3 separate regions of the Homo sapiens genome follow, and regions 2 and 3 are each linked to region 1. Evidence: promoter capture Hi-C in 16 types of primary human blood cells and fetal thymus (Javierre and others, 2016). All regions are on one chromosome and are shown on one strand. The core of a region is centred on a gene start or on the middle of the fragment in contact, and the rest is flanking DNA. Distances in the headings are between cores, read along the strand shown. Region 1 holds the start of PRADC1 (protease associated domain containing 1). Region 2 overlaps NAGK (N-acetylglucosamine kinase). Region 3 holds the start of PAIP2B (poly(A) binding protein interacting protein 2B).

Evidence for each region. Contacts are between HindIII fragments. The CHiCAGO score rates a contact against its expected background, and 5 or more counts as called.
Region 2: a fragment that was not itself captured here is called in contact with the fragment with the promoter of PRADC1 in region 1 in 2 of 17 cell types (naive B cells and fetal thymus); the score reaches 8.2 in naive B cells.
Region 3: the fragment with the promoter of PAIP2B here is called in contact with the fragment with the promoter of PRADC1 in region 1 in 2 of 17 cell types (naive CD8 T cells and neutrophils); the score reaches 9.3 in naive CD8 T cells.

What each region holds. Positions count from the first base shown.
Region 1 is chr2:73,231,957-73,234,501 of GRCh38, reverse strand. PRADC1 (protease associated domain containing 1) reads left to right here and starts at 1,263. Exons shown (of 5, transcript NM_032319.3): 1 at 1,263-1,408. The coding sequence starts at 1,342. It overlaps CCT7 (chaperonin containing TCP1 subunit 7), which reads right to left and starts at 194. Exons shown (of 12, transcript NM_006429.4): 1 at 118-194. The coding sequence starts at 123. RefSeq lists enhancers at 307-376, 497-546, 188-719 and a silencer at 1,007-1,216. The HindIII fragment of the contact is 3,259 bases long and covers 224-2,545 here.
Region 2 is chr2:71,069,838-71,072,382 of GRCh38, reverse strand. NAGK (N-acetylglucosamine kinase) reads right to left here. Exons shown (of 10, transcript NM_017567.6): 2 at 1,797-1,881; 3 at 1,544-1,642; 4 at 556-697. Among named protein-coding and RNA genes, the nearest start is that of NAGK, 2.5 kb to the right of the region's middle. The HindIII fragment of the contact is 539 bases long and covers 1,011-1,549 here.
Region 3 is chr2:71,225,841-71,228,385 of GRCh38, reverse strand. PAIP2B (poly(A) binding protein interacting protein 2B) reads left to right here and starts at 1,283. Exons shown (of 4, transcript NM_020459.1): 1 at 1,283-1,458. RefSeq lists enhancers at 998-1,137, 1,353-1,853. The HindIII fragment of the contact is 3,788 bases long and covers 1-2,545 here.

The sequences.
Region 1 (2,545 bases), core at 14-2,513:
GGGCGAGGACAGAGGCGGCAAGCAAAAGAGGGTCCTACAGAGCAAGCCCAGGCCGAGCGGCGCCGGCCACCGGCCAGATGGCAGCTGATGGCGACGGATGCGCGAGACGCCACTCACCATCATTTTGGAAGCTTATTCAGCGGCCCGCCACTCTCCCCTCTTCTCCGAGACCGGGCCGCCCAGCAACCCACAATGCCTCGCGCAATAGAAATACCCAGAAGCTTGGGCCGGGAGAGGAAGAGAACGGACCACTTCCGCTACTCTATGGTTCGTTACCACCGACTCGGTGCGGCTAGAAGGACCTGAGGCTGGGCTTCGGGGACTCTCTAGTGAGGGGCGTTCATTAAAGAGGGGTCGCCGCATTTCGGTCGTGCTTCTTAGAGCACGGAGGGTCTTTGCTCGGCCCGCATCACCTACTAACTTAATTCCACCCTCCTCCATCCCCGGACGCCAGACCAAGGAATGCAATAAAGGCAAAAGTGTGGGACGCAAAGTGTGGGATAGGCTGGTGCCAAAGCACTTTACGTGAGCGATCTCATTTAATCCTCACAACCCTATTGCGTTGGTCCTATTAAGGCCATTTTACTGATGACAGAAAGGAGGCTGAGAGGTCAAGGTGTCCAGTGTCACAGTTACATAGTCAGTGTCAACGGGACGAGCGTGGGAAGCTGCCCCCAATGCCCGTTTTCTGGCTTTGCACTGGCCAGAGGCTCCTCGTGGATGGCGTGCGCCAGGCCGCGGCCCCAGCGCCTATCCACGGTGAGCGCGCAAGCGTTGGTGGCACTGGGCGGAAGACCCCCTGGCGCAAGACGAGTGCCTTCCCGTGAAGGCGTGGGGAGGAGGGAAGCGCAGCTGGGAGGAGGGAAGCGCAGCTGGGAGAAGGCTAATCGTCGTCAATCGAGGCGGCCTTGGAGTGGACAGGACCGAGACCGCAAGGGTTAACGGCCTCGACTATCGACAGCTGAAGCAAGTCCGGCTACGGGCACACCTCCAGTGCTTGTCCTCCCTGGCCCGCCCACCGCCAGCGAGGACCCGGAGAGTATGCTGGGGCGGGGCTGAGGCGAAGGCCGGTTGTAGCTGTTAAGAGTTTAAGCCAATCAGCCCCCGGCTCCACTTCTCTCGACCAATAGGAAGTAGGCTAAGGCGCAGAGGCGGAAAGTGTGGCTACATGAGCAGGCGTCAGAGCCAATCAGCCTTGAGCCTCGTTCCCGTCGTCCAGCCCGCGGCGAGAGCGGGTATGTGGGCGGGAGGCCGGAGCAGCTGTCAGGCTGAAGTCCTGCGAGCGACGCGCGGCGGGGCGGCGAGAGGAAACGCGGCGCCGGGCCGGGCCCGGCCCTGGAGATGGTCCCCGGCGCCGCGGGCTGGTGTTGTCTCGTGCTCTGGCTCCCCGCGTGCGTCGCGGCCCACGGTGAGCGGCAACGGGTGGGACTGCGTTGCAGGGCGGGGCTGGCCGTCCAGCTTGCGCGCGTCTCGGGTTGGGGGCCAAGGGTCACCTTGGGGACCCTGCGAGTTCAGAGCAGGACAGGTCTGGGAGCGGGCGGCCGGAATAAGTGGGTGGTGGTCCAAGGACATAAAGTGGGCGCAGCCTGAGGCTGAAGCTCTGACTCCTCACCTTCCCACGACAAAGCAGATCTCCCCACTCGCCCCTCCCCGCCCACTAGCGCCGACCCAGGTGACTTAGGGTGCGACCAGAAGGGACAGCTAAGGAAGGATACTACAGGCTGGAGATATGTATGTGAGCATTCACATGTACACAGGAGCACACATTCCTACACGTGGGCACACACGCACAAACCGTTTACACCTACACAAGCACATAAATGTATACATCTATGCACATAAGTGAGCACATACGTATACCCACAACTTACACAAATAAGCACACACAAAGGCAAGCAAGGGTTGGGGAGGAGGGAGTGAGTTTGACGCTAGTCCAGGAAGGCTTTCTGGGGGTGTATTTGTATCCGAGAGGGAGTCCCCACTCCCAGGACTGTATAGCCCAGTGCCAAGCCATGGGAGCTCTAACTGATGGCTGTGATTTGGGCAGTAAACAAAGACAGCTAAAGCCTTAATGCCATCCTTGGTACACAGTAGTGACTTGGTAGTTTGTTGATAGACTAACAGACTTGTGACAGCAGTTTTCTTTTTTTCTTTTTTTTTTTTTTGAGACGGAGTCTTGCTCTGTCGCCCAGGTTGCAGTGCAGTGGCCCGATCTCGGCTCACTGCAAGCTCCGCCTCCCGGGTTCACGCCATTCTCCTGCCTCAGCCTCCCAAGTAGCTGGGACTACAGGCGCCCACCACCACGCCCGGCTAATTTTTTTGTATTTTTAGTAGAGACGGGGGTTTCACCGTGTTAGCCAGGATGGTCTCGATCTCCTGACCTCGTGATCTGCCCGCCTCGGCCTCCCAAAGTGCTGGGATTACAGGCGTGAGCCACCGCGCCCGCCCATGACAGCAGTTTTTATCTTTCAACATTCCGCAGTCTCTCTGGGTTAAGGAAACCAGGGACTCAAGTCCAGGTACAACATTAAACTTTGGTGCTGAG
Region 2 (2,545 bases), core at 31-2,530, 2.2 Mb after region 1:
CCTTGCCCAGCCGGTCTTCCAGTGACTCTACCTGCTTTACTGGGATTGTGCTAGACCCGTTCTCACAGTGATATTCACTCATACCCTAAACCATCTTATGAATACAACTTCCTCTATTTTATAGATGAGAAAACTGAAACTCAGAGTTTTGGAACTTCGCCAACATGGTATAGCAGGCAAAACAGGAACTGGGATTCAAACACCAATCCCATGACACCAAAACTCTTTACACTATCACAAGGCCACCCCACTTCCTCCTCAGCACTGACAGCTTCCCCAGCCTGCCTTCCTCACTACACCGCCCCCAGGTGGTCCCTCATCTGCAGGGGAGTTATGTTTGACCCCACTCCTGGATTCCCATCAAGAGACCTTTCTTGCCCTTCCTCCTGCTGCCTGGTCCTTGCTCTGGCAGAGACTTAAACTACTTAAAGAGTTGAGGGGAATATAAGAGTGGCTGCCTTCTGGATATTTGCAGAACAAGTTTTGTCAGCTATATCTAAGGGGCTTTCCCAAAAAAACCAGTTCTCACTCTCACCCCTCCCTCCACTTCCTCACCATCCGGTGTAGCTGTGGCGATGGAGCCGGCGGCATCGGTGGTGATTAAGTAGCTTTCACTCAGGTAGGGAAATCGGTCCCTCAGCTCCTCGATCAGGATCCTCCCCGCGTCCTCCTGGTCCCCACCGCTCAGAGATAGGCCCTAGGCCACGCGGGAGGTGAGCGAGTGTGCAGAGCCCCAGCCCCAGCTCTTTTCTCAACCCCCGCCCCCTCCTGATGCCTGATTCCTGTTCTCCCCATCTGGCCATACCCTGTTCACCCAGCCCCAGTCCTCCTTTCTCCCCACACAATGACCCCTCAGAAGGCTGTGGTTATAAGAACAACCTGGACTGGGGATGGACAGAAGAAAGAGGGGATTCAACAATGCCAGCTTTGGAGCTTGGAAGGGCAGTAGTGCTCTTAACAGAAAGATCAGGCAGCGGGGCAAGGTGAGGGGAGATGGAGAGAGGTAAGCTTGGTTTGGTATACACGAGGTTTGCCTGTGTCTGCAGAACATCTCACATATATGTCCAGGGAGTAGCTGGAGCTACCGCAACTTGGGAGAAAGATCTGAACCAGGAGTAAATAATAGCTAACATTTAATGAGTGCTTATGGGTCAGGCTCTATACTAACCACTTTGCAATGTATCATGCCATTTTACTTTCCCAACAACTCTGAGGTAGCTACTATTCACATTTTCCAAATGAGGAAACTGAGGCTTAGAGAAGGTGAGTAACCTACACAGGGTTACGCAGATACTGAGCAGCAAAGCTGGGATTCAAACCAAGGTCTCAGCAGCTCTCCAAAGCCCTGTGCTCTTCCAACACATTTGTAGTTTGTAGGTGGCAACTGAAGCCATGAGACTGGGTGAGATTATGACAGTTTTGACACCAGGGACTAAGTCTTGGAGGTCTTTCCCTCTGCAGTCATCAAACTCATCTAGTCCAAACTTGCTAGCTGTCTCAGTGTCACAGATGGCTGAATTCCCAGGCTCCGCCCCAGACTCACCAAGCTTCGCAGCGGTACCAGAGGATCCACCCCTGCTTTCCGTTTGGCCCTGTTCACCATCTCATTGATCCTCTCCACACACTTGTCTGTCCCGATCAGCTGGCCCCAATCAAGGGAAGAAGGAGTTACAAAGGCTTACAGAAGCTATGTTGCCCCCACAGGCTGCTCTGTGAGTCCCAGCCACCACCTCAACAGGAATTACAGAGAATAAAATCAGAACCAAGCCCTCTGATCCCCTCAGTGTGGTTTTTACCCAGTGGTTTGTGCTCAGTCCATCTGCTTCTGCCAGGATCTTCCCATCCTCTGAGACTAAAAGGACCTCGGATCGTGTGCCTCCCCTACAGAACACAAGAGGGCACTTGATCTTGCTCGGAAAAACCCACAGAGAGAGCTAAGCTTGTGCTGTCCACACTGGCAGAGCCCAGTATGATGGAGGAGACAGCTTCGACAAACTCAATCACCACTCCCAAACCCGCCTCTGTGGTTCAGTGTTTGAGTGCTCTTTAACTGAAACATAATTCTCACTCCTCTTCCCTTGGGGATGTCCTCCTTATCCTGCAAGACTCTACTTACGCTTCACCTAGTCCTCGAAACCTTTTCTGAGGTGTGGCCCACCCCAACGAATTAGTTAAGTCTCCGTTAGTTAAACCTTCATAGTGCCTCCAAAGTTATTAAAGTCTCCTCTGTATGAAGTGTGTGTTCAGACGCTTTGTGTCCGCCTCTCACTAGACTTCAAGCTCCACTGGGTCAAGCTCCTGATCACTTACTTACCCTCTCAGAACGAGCACAGGAGCTGGCACAGGCAATGCTCAGCAAACACTCCTAAGAAAAATGGCACATCTCTCTGCTTCCCTCACAATAGCTAAAGACTGCATTTCAAGATCCAGCTGCCAAGGTCTTCAAGACACCTTTGCTAGAAATGCTGACCAGATGGCAGGGTGACTTCATACATACTTAAGCAACTAAACCTTCAAATGTTGATTACTGGGGGTCACAGTAGTT
Region 3 (2,545 bases), core at 34-2,533, 2.0 Mb after region 1:
GAATTATAATTCAAAATGAGATTTGGGTGGGGACACAGAGCCAAACCATATCAAAGTATACAGCTAATATTTATAATTGTTATTTGAGTTTATCTTTTTCATTTTTATATTTTTTCCATTCATTCTGCAATTCCCTAACTTTGTGTCATGTATACAGTCAGCTTGAGAGGTGGGGGGGAGAGAAAAATGTATAAAGTAAGAGCTCCACAAAGAAATCCCTACTTCCTGTGGAATACAATTCGAAGTCCTTTGCAAGCAGATTGGACATTCTAAATCCAAGGGAGGCAATAAAGTTTTATTTTAATTTGTATTTATTGATGTATTTTTTTTTGAGTCGCAACCTCACTCTATTGCCCAGATTGGAGTGCAGTGGTGCGATCTTGGCTCACTGCAACCTCTGCCTCCCGGGTTCAAGTGATTCTCCTGCCTCAGCCTCCCGAGTAGCTGGGACTACAGGAGCCCGCCACCACGCCCAGCTAATTTTTGCATTTTTAGTAGAGACGGGGTTTCACCATACTGGCGAGGCTGGTCTAGAACTCCTGACCTTGTGATCCGCCCGTCTCGGCCTCCCAGAGTGGTGGGATTACAGGCGTGAGCCACCGCGCCCGGCCAAGTTTTATTTTTTTAAAGCACTCAAGAAGTTAGGTTTGTTTCTAGAAACGTGGAAGCATCCGTCTGCTTCCTTCCAGCGTCCCTTTGCTTCCTTCCAGCCTCCCAAGGAGCCCAATTCCTTAATTTTCCCTACAGAGAATAGCACCAGGTCCAAAGCAGCCTGAATCAAAGCTCCTCCTTTGGTAATTGACAGCTGAGGGAAATCCTACTGAGGCCCACCCCCACCCTCCTCCTTGCTAGGCTGACAGGCAAAACTCGGTGGCAGTGGCTTCCAGCTCAGCCAATAGACGAAGCGGGAGCAAGAGCCTGTGTAAACAAACCCAGAGTGCGGCGCCTTGGTCTCCTCCCCCACGAGTGGGCCGGGCGCATCCTTGGCCCAATGCCTATCCCAGGCTAGCGTAGCGTCCTTTCAGCCAATCAGAGCCGGCATCTCCCTCAAGGAGGTGTTCCACCACAGGAAAAAAAAAATGAAGGAAGAGAAAAGACAGACATTAAAACCAATCAGAAGCTGAAACTTCTGAGGGAGTGGGCGGGCACTGCTTCACATTTAGACCAATAAAAACCACATATGCCATTCTAGGTGACCGAACGGCATCTTCTTTGGCCCAATAGACGAATGGGGCGGTGCCCGGCAACCAATGGCTTGGGTTCGGGGGCGGGGCGAGGAGGCAGTGTGCAGTAAGAGATAACCTGGCAAGTGGTAGTGGCGCTTCTCGGGTGCTGTGCTTCACGTTTTGGTACTAAAGGCCGAGACTGTTGTGGCGACGGCGACCTCTACGGCAACGGCTTAAGCTCTCGGAGGAGTGGCAGAGTACGATCTGAAGGAGGGGCTTCTGGTTAGCCCAGGTGGGCTCGGGTGCCCGGGCTGCTGGGGAAAGGACTCGAGGGAAACGCCGTTCTCCCGGCTCTGGGGGCGCCCTGCGCCTCCCTTTCTGCCGCCGTCGGGGCTGTGAAGGGCGGCACGCGCCTGCCCGAGCTCCTGTAGGGAGGGAAAGCGCGCGGGGTCCCACGTCGCGGCCATCGGCGAAAAGGGGCGTCCGCTGGGGTCAGCCCCTGCCCCTCGGGAGCAATAGGGGGTTTTCGTCCCTTTCCCCCCCGCACAGGTGCTCTGTTTCCCCCCGACTCCCACCCAAGTTCCTGACTCCCCTCAGCGTCCTCCTAACACTCGAACCGAATTCTTGGCCTGAGTCCCATTTCTACCCAGGTGCAACAATGCTAGGCAAATTGACCCGCGCGGCATCCCCCGCCCCTCTCCCCGGGCTGGAGCGGGAGGGATTGCGCGTCGTGCCCTTCCCCTATTCGCGGCCCCTGCGCGTCCTCTGCCTTTTTATACTTGCTCCATCTCCCCCTTGACTCCAGCCCTCATTCTTCATGCCTCATTTGCCTGGGAGACGTTCGCCACTTCTCTTGTGCCTTGCGGTCCGTGAGTGAGCCCATCACCCCCTACCAACCCCTAAATTCCATTCTCATCTCTCCAGAAAACTAACATTTTCCACTTGCCTCTTCCAGGCAGCTGGAAGGTGAACTGAGAGAGGCAGAATACGCAGAACAGGGAGTTTGGCAAGGTTGGGAACTTTAATGTTTTGTTCCTGGTAGACTGTTTTTGCCTTCAAATGGCATTTGACCATTATACCCGCTCTAGAATCTTTGTCCTAATGCAGTTCTTTTGGTGGTAATTGCTGAAAATGCAGTTGAAAAGGGCTAACTAGAAGCAAGGGATTTAAATTTTGTTACTATTATTTTCAGTAAATTGAATTGGATTATACTTTAAACAGCTTAACTGGGGTTTCTGGGAGTTTGTAGTGTAAGGGCCTGGCTACCCTACTTTGTCATAAAATATAGAACATACTTAGTTGTACAGCACAGTGTGATTCGATCACACCCAACCTATGAAGGGATAATAACAGCATTGAATCTGTCCAAAAACAACATT